Linked DNA regions of Homo sapiens: region 2 is linked to region 1. The links are contacts of gene promoters, found by promoter capture Hi-C in blood cells and fetal thymus (Javierre and others, 2016). All regions are on one chromosome and are shown on one strand. Each heading gives the region's core, a stretch centred on a gene start or on the middle of the fragment in contact. The rest is flanking DNA. Distances are from core to core; before and after follow the strand shown. Region 1 holds the start of MRPL28 (mitochondrial ribosomal protein L28). Region 2 overlaps FAM234A (family with sequence similarity 234 member A).

What was found. The method cuts DNA at HindIII sites, captures the fragments that hold promoters and counts their contacts. A CHiCAGO score of 5 or more calls a contact.
Region 2: a fragment that was not itself captured here is called in contact with the fragment with the promoter of MRPL28 in region 1 in 1 of 17 cell types (erythroblasts); the score reaches 5.7 in erythroblasts.

What each region holds. Positions count from the first base shown.
Region 1 is chr16:369,088-371,787 of GRCh38, reverse strand. MRPL28 (mitochondrial ribosomal protein L28) reads left to right here and starts at 1,250. Exons shown (of 6, transcript NM_006428.5): 1 at 1,250-1,289; 2 at 1,563-1,857; 3 at 2,568-2,700. The coding sequence starts at 1,570. It overlaps PGAP6 (post-GPI attachment to proteins 6), which reads left to right. Exons shown (of 13, transcript NM_021259.3): 13 at 1-1,000. The HindIII fragment of the contact is 7,915 bases long and covers 865-2,700 here.
Region 2 is chr16:244,769-250,541 of GRCh38, reverse strand. It overlaps FAM234A (family with sequence similarity 234 member A), which reads right to left. Exons shown (of 13, transcript NM_032039.4): 2 at 888-993. Among named protein-coding and RNA genes, the nearest start is that of FAM234A, 13 kb to the right of the region's middle. The HindIII fragment of the contact is 1,601 bases long and covers 3,179-4,779 here.

The sequences.
Region 1 (2,700 bases), core at 1-2,500:
TGAGATCCCTCTGCAGATCCCAGCTGCTGTCTGCAGTGGCCCCTGGGGCCTGGGCTTGGTTACTTGGAGACCACAGGTGCCTGTGCGAGGGTGGGGCTGTGTGCTCTGCTGGCCTGTGGGTGGCTAGAGATGGGGAGAAGGACTCCCTATGGTCCTGTTCCCTGGCGAGGCTGTGGTGAGACCCATGGCGCCCAGGAGCCCTGAGCCCACCACTGGGGCCGGGAGCTGTGGACTCCGAGACCCCTGCTCCTGGCCCCTGTGTGGCCCTGATGCCAGCCTGCCTGGGGCATGGAGGATCCCCCTCTGCTGCTGTGGTCACCATAGGGACGGGAGACGGAGGTTTCCCCCAGAGCTGATGGGCACTGGGGATGCAGGCTCCCGCCCCGCCCCTCCCTTTTTCCTGGCTCTGGAGCCTTGGGTCCCTGAGAAGAGCTTCCTTGGACTGGGGTGCTCTGCTGCTCTGGGGGTTTGGCCCAGAAGGAACCCCTACCCAGCCCTGTCCACCCACCCCAGCGTTCCTGGGCCCCCCTCTGGGAGCTTCCTCTTGGTCCCAGGAGCTGCGGTGGTGTCTGCCCCCTGCACTGGGCTCTGTGCCCTGTGGGTGTTCAGGAGACTGGACTGTCTCTGCTCCTCATGCAAACCTTGTGGGGGAAGCAATGACCAGGAGCAGCACCTGGCCCCTCCCTGAGGCCTGTGAGTGTCTCGGATCCGCCCTGGAGAAGTGAGTGGCTGAGACCCGGGTGGGGCCCTCCTACCCTTGGCTCTGGGGGCTTCCCTTCTGGGTCTTGTCCGGGATATGGCCTTCCTGAAGGTCTTACCTCCCCCAGCCGCCCTGCACTTGACCACCAAAGCAATCTCTAAGCTTATAAAGGAGAAACATATATATATGGGGTTTTTTGGAGTAAAGGAAAATTCTAAGATATTAAGACATATTTTTATGTAGATCTGATCTATCTGTGTTTGGTGAATTTAATATTCTACATTGATTTTTCAAACTAAACGAGTTTTTACATTTTTTCTGTGCTCCTTCCCGGGTAGGGTAAGTGGGGCCCGGGAGAACAAGCACCGCCCCGCCCGTGCCGCCCTTCGCGGAAACGCCGGGGCCGCACGTAGCTAACGGTGCCTTGAGCTGCTGCTGCTGTATGTGGGGTGTTTTTTACGGTCCCTAAAGACGGAAGCGGGGCGGGACGAGGGGGTAGACGGATGGCTTTTACAGCCAGTCAGCGGTGGGAGGAGGGCCAGGCGCGGCAGATCGGCTTCCGGTTCCGGTGGGCTCTGAACCCTGAAAGGTGGGCGCGGGCAGGTGGGGTGTGGGGGGGCGCCGGGGCAGAAGGGGAGGGGCAGGTGGGTGCGGGACAGGGGCCGGAGTGAGAACCGGGGGCCGGGGTAGGGGGTAGCGGGTGAGAGCCGGGGGCCGGGGTAGCGGGTGAGAGCCGGGGGCCGGGGTAGCGGGTGAGAGCCGGGGGCCGGGGTAGCGGGTGAGAGTCGGGGGCCGGGGTAGGGGGTGAGTGCCGGGGGCCTGGCCAGGCTGCGACTGACTGCGAGCCCCCACCTCCCGCCAGGCTCGCGATGCCTCTACACAAGTATCCCGTGTGGCTCTGGAAGCGGCTGCAGCTGCGGGAGGGCATCTGTTCCCGCCTGCCCGGCCACTACCTGCGCTCCCTGGAGGAGGAGCGGACGCCCACTCCCGTGCACTATAGGCCTCATGGGGCCAAGTTCAAGATCAACCCCAAGAACGGGCAGCGGGAGCGTGTGGAGGACGTGCCCATTCCCATCTACTTTCCCCCCGAATCCCAGCGGGGGTTGTGGGGCGGCGAGGGCTGGATCCTGGGCCAAATATATGCCAACAACGACAAGGTGGGTCCGCAGGCGGCCTTCAGGGGCTCCTCTCAGGGCTTGGCTGTGCCGGCTCTGTGCCGGACGCCCGGGGTACCTGGAGAGACCTGGGTGGGCCCTGGGGATTACAGCCTGGAGGCGACACATCTCCGGCAAAGGAGCACGCTGAGTGAAGAACCGCAGTTCTGGCAAACAGGACTGATAAAGTAGGGGTGAGGTGGGGTGACTCAGGCCGGGGGAGCAACCAGAGGCCGTGGGGAGTCGGGGTAAAGTTAGGATGGGGAGGAGGCCTGTGTGATGAGCAGAGCAGGTGGGAGAGGCGAGCAGAGCAGGTGGGGGAGGCGAGCAGAGCTTCGAGGCTGCTTGTGGTGGACTTCCTGGCGGGACTGCTGAAGCCTGTGGGGAGACTTGTGTCACCTCCAGGTTGGAATGTGACAACCTGTAAACTGTGGGGTCGCACATGTTTCTGAAACACATGCAGCAACCATGTGACCAGGGCGGGAACGCCCAGCTTGTTGGGGAGCAGCTGACTTCTGGGTACACAGTCAGGACCCGGGTCGGGCTGGGGCGGCACTGGGCTGGGGGCCGGCCCAGTTAGCTCTAGGTCCCCAGTCTGACAGCAGTGGTTCTGTGATGGAGCCTCCGGGGGGGAGGTGAGGGCAGTTGCCTGGGCCCCCCTTGGTATGTAAGAGAAAGCAGCAGTACTCATGGAGGCTCTGTTGCACCCTCAGCTCTCCAAGAGGCTGAAGAAAGTGTGGAAGCCACAGCTGTTTGAGCGAGAGTTCTACAGTGAGATCCTGGACAAGAAGTTCACAGTGACTGTGACCATGCGGACCCTGGACCTCATCGATGAGGCTTATGGGC
Region 2 (5,773 bases), core at 2,730-5,229, 120 kb after region 1:
ATCTTGGAAGTCAGAAAAGGTGTGCTTATCAAAGGCAGTGAGTTAGAACACGGAAAATCAAACAATGAGTCGCGACCAAGGACCTCATTAAACCCAAGCAGCTGGCATGGGGGTGGGGAAGGCAGGACGTGGGTTGTCTGGAAAAGGTAACTAGGGAAAAAGCCAGCAACAGAACGTAGGAGTGCCTCATTGCCAGGGCCTGAGGGGCTGGGGCCAGGGCTGGAAGAAGAGGAGACGGCCATTAATTCAGCAAATCTAGCCACCATGTCCCCAAGGAAGGGATGTGTGAAATGTTTAAAACATAGATTCCTGGCCGGGCGCGGTGGCTCACGCCTGTAGTCCCAGCACTTTGAGAGGCCGAGGTGGGAGGATCACGAGGTCAGGAGATCTAGAGCATCCTGGCTAACACGGTGAAACCCCGTCTCTACTAAGAATACAAAAAATTAGCTGGGTGTGGCGGCATGCGCCTATAGGAGGCTGCGGCAGGAGAACGGCGTGAACCCGGGAGGTGGAGCTTGCAGTGAGCCGAGATCGCGCCACTGCACTCCAGCCTGGGCGACAGAGCGAGACTCCGTCTAAAAAGAAAAATTTTTTTTAAATAATAAATAAATAAAACATAGATTCCTTTGGCAAAGGAAAGAAAAAAACGGAGTAAGAACCAGAATGTTATAATTCTGGATTTCTATCTTTACGGCTTTAAACTTAAGAGCTTTAAAATTGCAGCCAAGAAATTCGAGCTCTGAGCCTCAGCTGTCCTCATCTGGTGGGAGCTAGAGCATCAAAGAAAGCGTGCAGGAAAGCACTACTCAAGGAGGGGCATCAACCGCCACCACCAGGAATCTGAAAACACCACCCATCCAGCCACGGGCCCACCAGTCCTCACCTACCTGGTCGTGGGAGTGCCCGGAGGACGTCCTCGATGTGGACTCCTGCTGGTGCATCTGGTCGTGAGCTGTGGACGGGGAATCTGTGCCTTCGCAAGCCCAGGTGGACCTAGGGATCATAAAGCCACTTGTCAAGTGCAGCTCAGGCAGCCTGCGAAGGTGGCAGGTCAGGAACTTAGATCCTCCCAAAGACATGACTCTCAGTGGTGGCTCCACATGAAAATAACTTGGGTGCTTTCGCAATCCTGATGCCACCCCCAGAAGGACTAAGTTGGCCACTTTGGGTGTGGGGTCCCAGTCAGGAGCAGCTGCTGGCACTCTCCAGCTGATTCCAGGGTGGAGCCAAGCAGAGAAGAACAGACCGAGAAGTCTGCCCTTGTTCGGTTCATCCCACTCTAACTACCAGATGATGGCCAGACATCTCCTGACCCTCAAGGGGAGACTGCATCCCCCCACAGCCAGCCTGGAAGCAAGCAAGGCAAAGGGGAAAGGGCCTCTTCCTCTGAAGATGCCGCCCGGCCTGTATTCTGGGTTTTCTGTTCCTTGGAGTTCACAGCAAGCTTAGTAAAGTCAATCCAAATGCAGACCTCAAGCTAGTAAATTATATCACTCCCTTTCTTAATCCTTCTTCTAATATGTAAGCTATGACCAAAGGACCCTGCAAGACAATTACTATTAATGTAGTTTGGATTTATAATTTTAAAAAATCAGTAATAAATATATACAACATTTAAAAGGGCCAGGTGCACTGCCTCACACCTGTAATCCCAGCACTTTGGGGGACTGAGGCAGGTGGGTCGCTTGAGCCTAGGAGTTTGAGACCAGCCTGGGCAACAGGGGACACTTCTTCTCTACCCAAAAATACAAAAATCAGCCAGGTGTGGTGGTGGGCACCTATAGTCCCAACTACTCAGGAGGCTGAGGCAGGAGGATTGCTTGAGCCCGGGAGGTCAAGGCTGCAGTGAGCGATGGCCAGGACACTGCACTCCATCCTGGGCAACAGAACAAGACCCTGTTTCAAAAAAACCCACAAAACTTAAAAACTATAAAAGGGTAAATCTCCTTTCATCTTGTGGCTCCCAGGCTCAAGAGGGGAAGCATGGTACCAGTTTCATATGGGTCCTTCCAGAAGTATTCTCTATGTGGATAAGCATGGAGTATATAAAGTATACAATCTATATGAAAAAAATGTGACTAGAATGGTCGAGTTATAAGGTGGCTTCTAAAAATTAAAGGAAAAATAAAATTCAAACTACTTACTTATCTCTACAGCATGATTTGTCATGTTAAATCAGACCAAACTGGACATTCTGTGGCAGGGACAGAGAAAGTACTGTCATTTTCTCAATTCCTGCCTTTTGAATTGGAGAGCCTGGCCGAAAGGACAAACATTTCCCCCATGCACGGACCATCTCTGTAACAAGATTTAGAAGGACAAAGGGAAAAAACTCTCTAAATGCTCATTAGTAACACGGTTGGGGATTTGGGTCATCTGTGTCTTGTGAGCATCTACAATTGGTCCAGTGTCCTCACCTGCAGAGCAGAATGAAATAAGACATATCACATACGTGTGAGGGAAGACAGAAACAGAGGCTTCAGAAGGCAAAGCCCCATTACGGGACGCAAAACAATGCAGGCAATTGACTTAACCAGATGAGCACCCACCTGAACCCAGCACTGGGCTCCACTCTGAGAGGGTTCCCAGACAGTCAGGCCCCGCAGTGCCTCCATGGGGACTCTCCCACCACTTGGGCGAACCCAGGTCAGGGTAGAAAATGGCACTGAACATTTTTGGGAGGATCATCATTTTAACTGACAAACACAGGTTTCTAAAACCGAGCCAGCCGTTGAGGCATTTATGAAAAACACAGACTGATCTAAGATCAAAAGAGTTTGTGAGAAACTGATTTAAAAATCATTAATAAGGCCAGGCGCGGTGGCTCACGCCTATAATCCCAGCCCTTTGGGAGGCCAAGGCAGGCGGAGTACCTGAGGTCAGGAGTTCGAGACCAGCCTGGCCAACATGGTGAAACCCCATCTCTACTAAAAAATACAAAAATTAGTCGGGCGTGGTGGCGGGCACCTTAATCCCAGTCACTTGGGAGTCAAGGGCAGGAGAATTGTTTGAACCTGGGAGGCAGAGGTTGCAGTCAGCCGAGATTGAGCCATCGCACTCAAGCCTGAGGGACAACAGCAAGACTTCTCTTAAAAAAAAAAAATCATTAATAAGGCTGGGAGTGTTGTCTCATGTCTATAATCCCAGCACTTTGCCAGGCCGAGGCGCATGGAAAGCTTGAGTTCAGTTCAAGACCAGCCTGGGCAACACGGTGAGACCGTTTCTAAAAAGAAAGAAAAAAAAAATCAGCCCGGTGTGGTGGCACACGCCTGTGGTCTTAGCTACCCAGGAGCTGAGGTGGGAGGGTCACTTGAAGCCAGGAAGTGGAGGCTGCAATGAGTGGTGATCACGCCACTGCCCTCCAGCCTGGTGACACAGAGTAAAGCTCTGTCTCAAAACAAAACAAAACAGAACAAAACATCGATAAAACAACAAAACCAACAATCAATCAATTAAAAAACCACCAACTGACCGGGCGTGGTGGTTTGCGCCTGTAATCCCAGCACTTTCGGAGGCCGAGGCAGGCAGATCACGAAGTCAGGAGTTCGAGACCAGCCTGAACAACATGGTGAAACCCCACCTCTGCTAAAATAAAAAAATTAGATGAGTATGGTGGCATGCGCCTATAATCCCAACTACTCAGGAGGCTGAGGCAGGAGAATCACTTGAGCCTGGGAGGCAGAGGTTGCAGTGAGCCAAGATCGTGCCACTGCACTCCAGCCTGGGCAACAGAGCAAGACCCCCATCTCAAAAAAAGAAAAAAACAAAAACAAAACAAAACAAAACAAAACACCAATCGATCGAAAAAAAAAAAACACCAGCTGGCTGGGCATGGTGGCTCACGCCTGTAATACCAGCACTTTAGGAGGCCAAAGCGGGCGGATCACAAGGTCAGGAGATTGAGACCATCCTGGCTAACACGGTGAAACCCCATCTCTACTAAAAATACAAAAAATTAGCCGGGTGTGGTGGCGGGCACCTTTAGTCCCAGCTACTCGGGAGGCTGAGGCAGGAGAATGGCGTGAACCCGGGAGGCAGAGCTTGCAGTGAGCCAAGATCGCACCACTGCACTCCAGCCTGGGCGACAGAGCAAGACTATCTCAAAAAAAAAAAAAAAAAAAAAAGCCACCACCTACTCAGGAGGCTGAGGCAGGAGAACTGCTTGAACCCAGGAGGCAGAGGTTGCGGTGAGCCGAGACTGCACCACTGTGCTCCAGCCTGGGTGAGAGTGAGACCTCGTCACAAAAAAAAAAAAAAATCCACCAATCAAGATAAACTCCAAATGAATTAAAAATGTAAACATTATTATTATTATTATTATTTTTTTGAGACAGAATCTTGCTCTGTCACCTAGGCGGGAGTACAATGGCGTGATCTTGGCTCACTGCAACCTCTGCCTCCTGGGTTCAAGCGATTCTCCTGCCTCAGCCTCCTGAGTGGCTGGGACTATAGGCACCCACCACCACACCCACCACCGCACCCAGCTAATTTTTGTATTTTTAGTAGAGACGGTTTCACCATGATGATCAGGCTGGTCTAGAACTGCTGACCTCGTGATCTGCCCACCTAAGCCTCTCAAAGTGCTGGGATTACAGGCGTGAGCCACTGCGCCTGGCCAAAAATGTAAACATTATTTTTAACAAACATTAAACTAAAAGAAAATAGAAGAGAATGTTTATGTATTGTTAGGGAAAGTCTTGAACGCATGACCCCAAAGGTGGAAATCATTAAGAAAAACACTGATGAACTAAATATATTATGAAATGTCTAACCCAAGCTTGTCCAACCCTCGGCCCAGGATGGCTTGAAGTGTGGCCTAACATAAATTCAGAAACTTTCTTAAAACATTCACAGATTTTTTTGCAATTTTTTTTTTTCAGCTCATCAGCTATCATTAGTGTTAGTGTACTTTATGTGTGGCCCAAGACAATTCTTCCAACGTGGCCCAGGGAAGCCAAAAGATTGTTGTTAGCTCCACAAAACAAACCAGGATAAATATTCTTAGGGTTTTCACAAACCCACAAAAGAAAGGCAAGGACCCCAGTGGGGAAACAGGAAACGAATTCATAACTGGGCAGTTCACTGAAGAGCACACGCCAGTGGCCGGTGCCCAGGGGAAACACACTCAGTCTCACTCATAGACACAGCAGGACCAATGACATTAACAAAAGTTAAGCATTTCATTTTATCTGATCTTGAGACAGGGTCTCACTCTGTGGCCCAGGCTGGAGGGCAGTGGTGATCTAGGCTCACTGCAACCTCCTCCTGCTGGGTTCGAGAGATTCTCCCACCTCAGCCTATAAAGTAGCTGGGACCACAGGTGTGCATCACCGCGCCGGGCAAATTTTTGTATTTTTTGTAGAGACAGAGTTTCGCCACGTTGCCCAGGCTGGTCTCAAACTCCAGGGCCCAAGTGATCTGCCTGCCTCAGCCTCCCAAAGTGTGGGCCACGCCCAGCCTAAAAGTTAAGCATTTTAAAATGTGTTGGTGAGAATATACGATAACAGGTCTGCAGTACAATAGTCGTGGGAATTTGAAATGGTAGTTATTGGTCGAGCGCGATGGCTCATGCCTGTAATCCCAGCACGTTGGGAGGCTGAGGCGGGCAGATCACCTGAGGTCGGGAGTTTGAGACCAGCCTGACCAACATGGAGAAACCCCATCTCTACTAAAAATACAAAAAAAAATTAGCCGGGCGTGGTGGTGCATGCCTGTAATCCCAGCTACTCGGGAGGCTGAGGCAGGAGAATCACTTGAACCTGGGAGGCAGAGG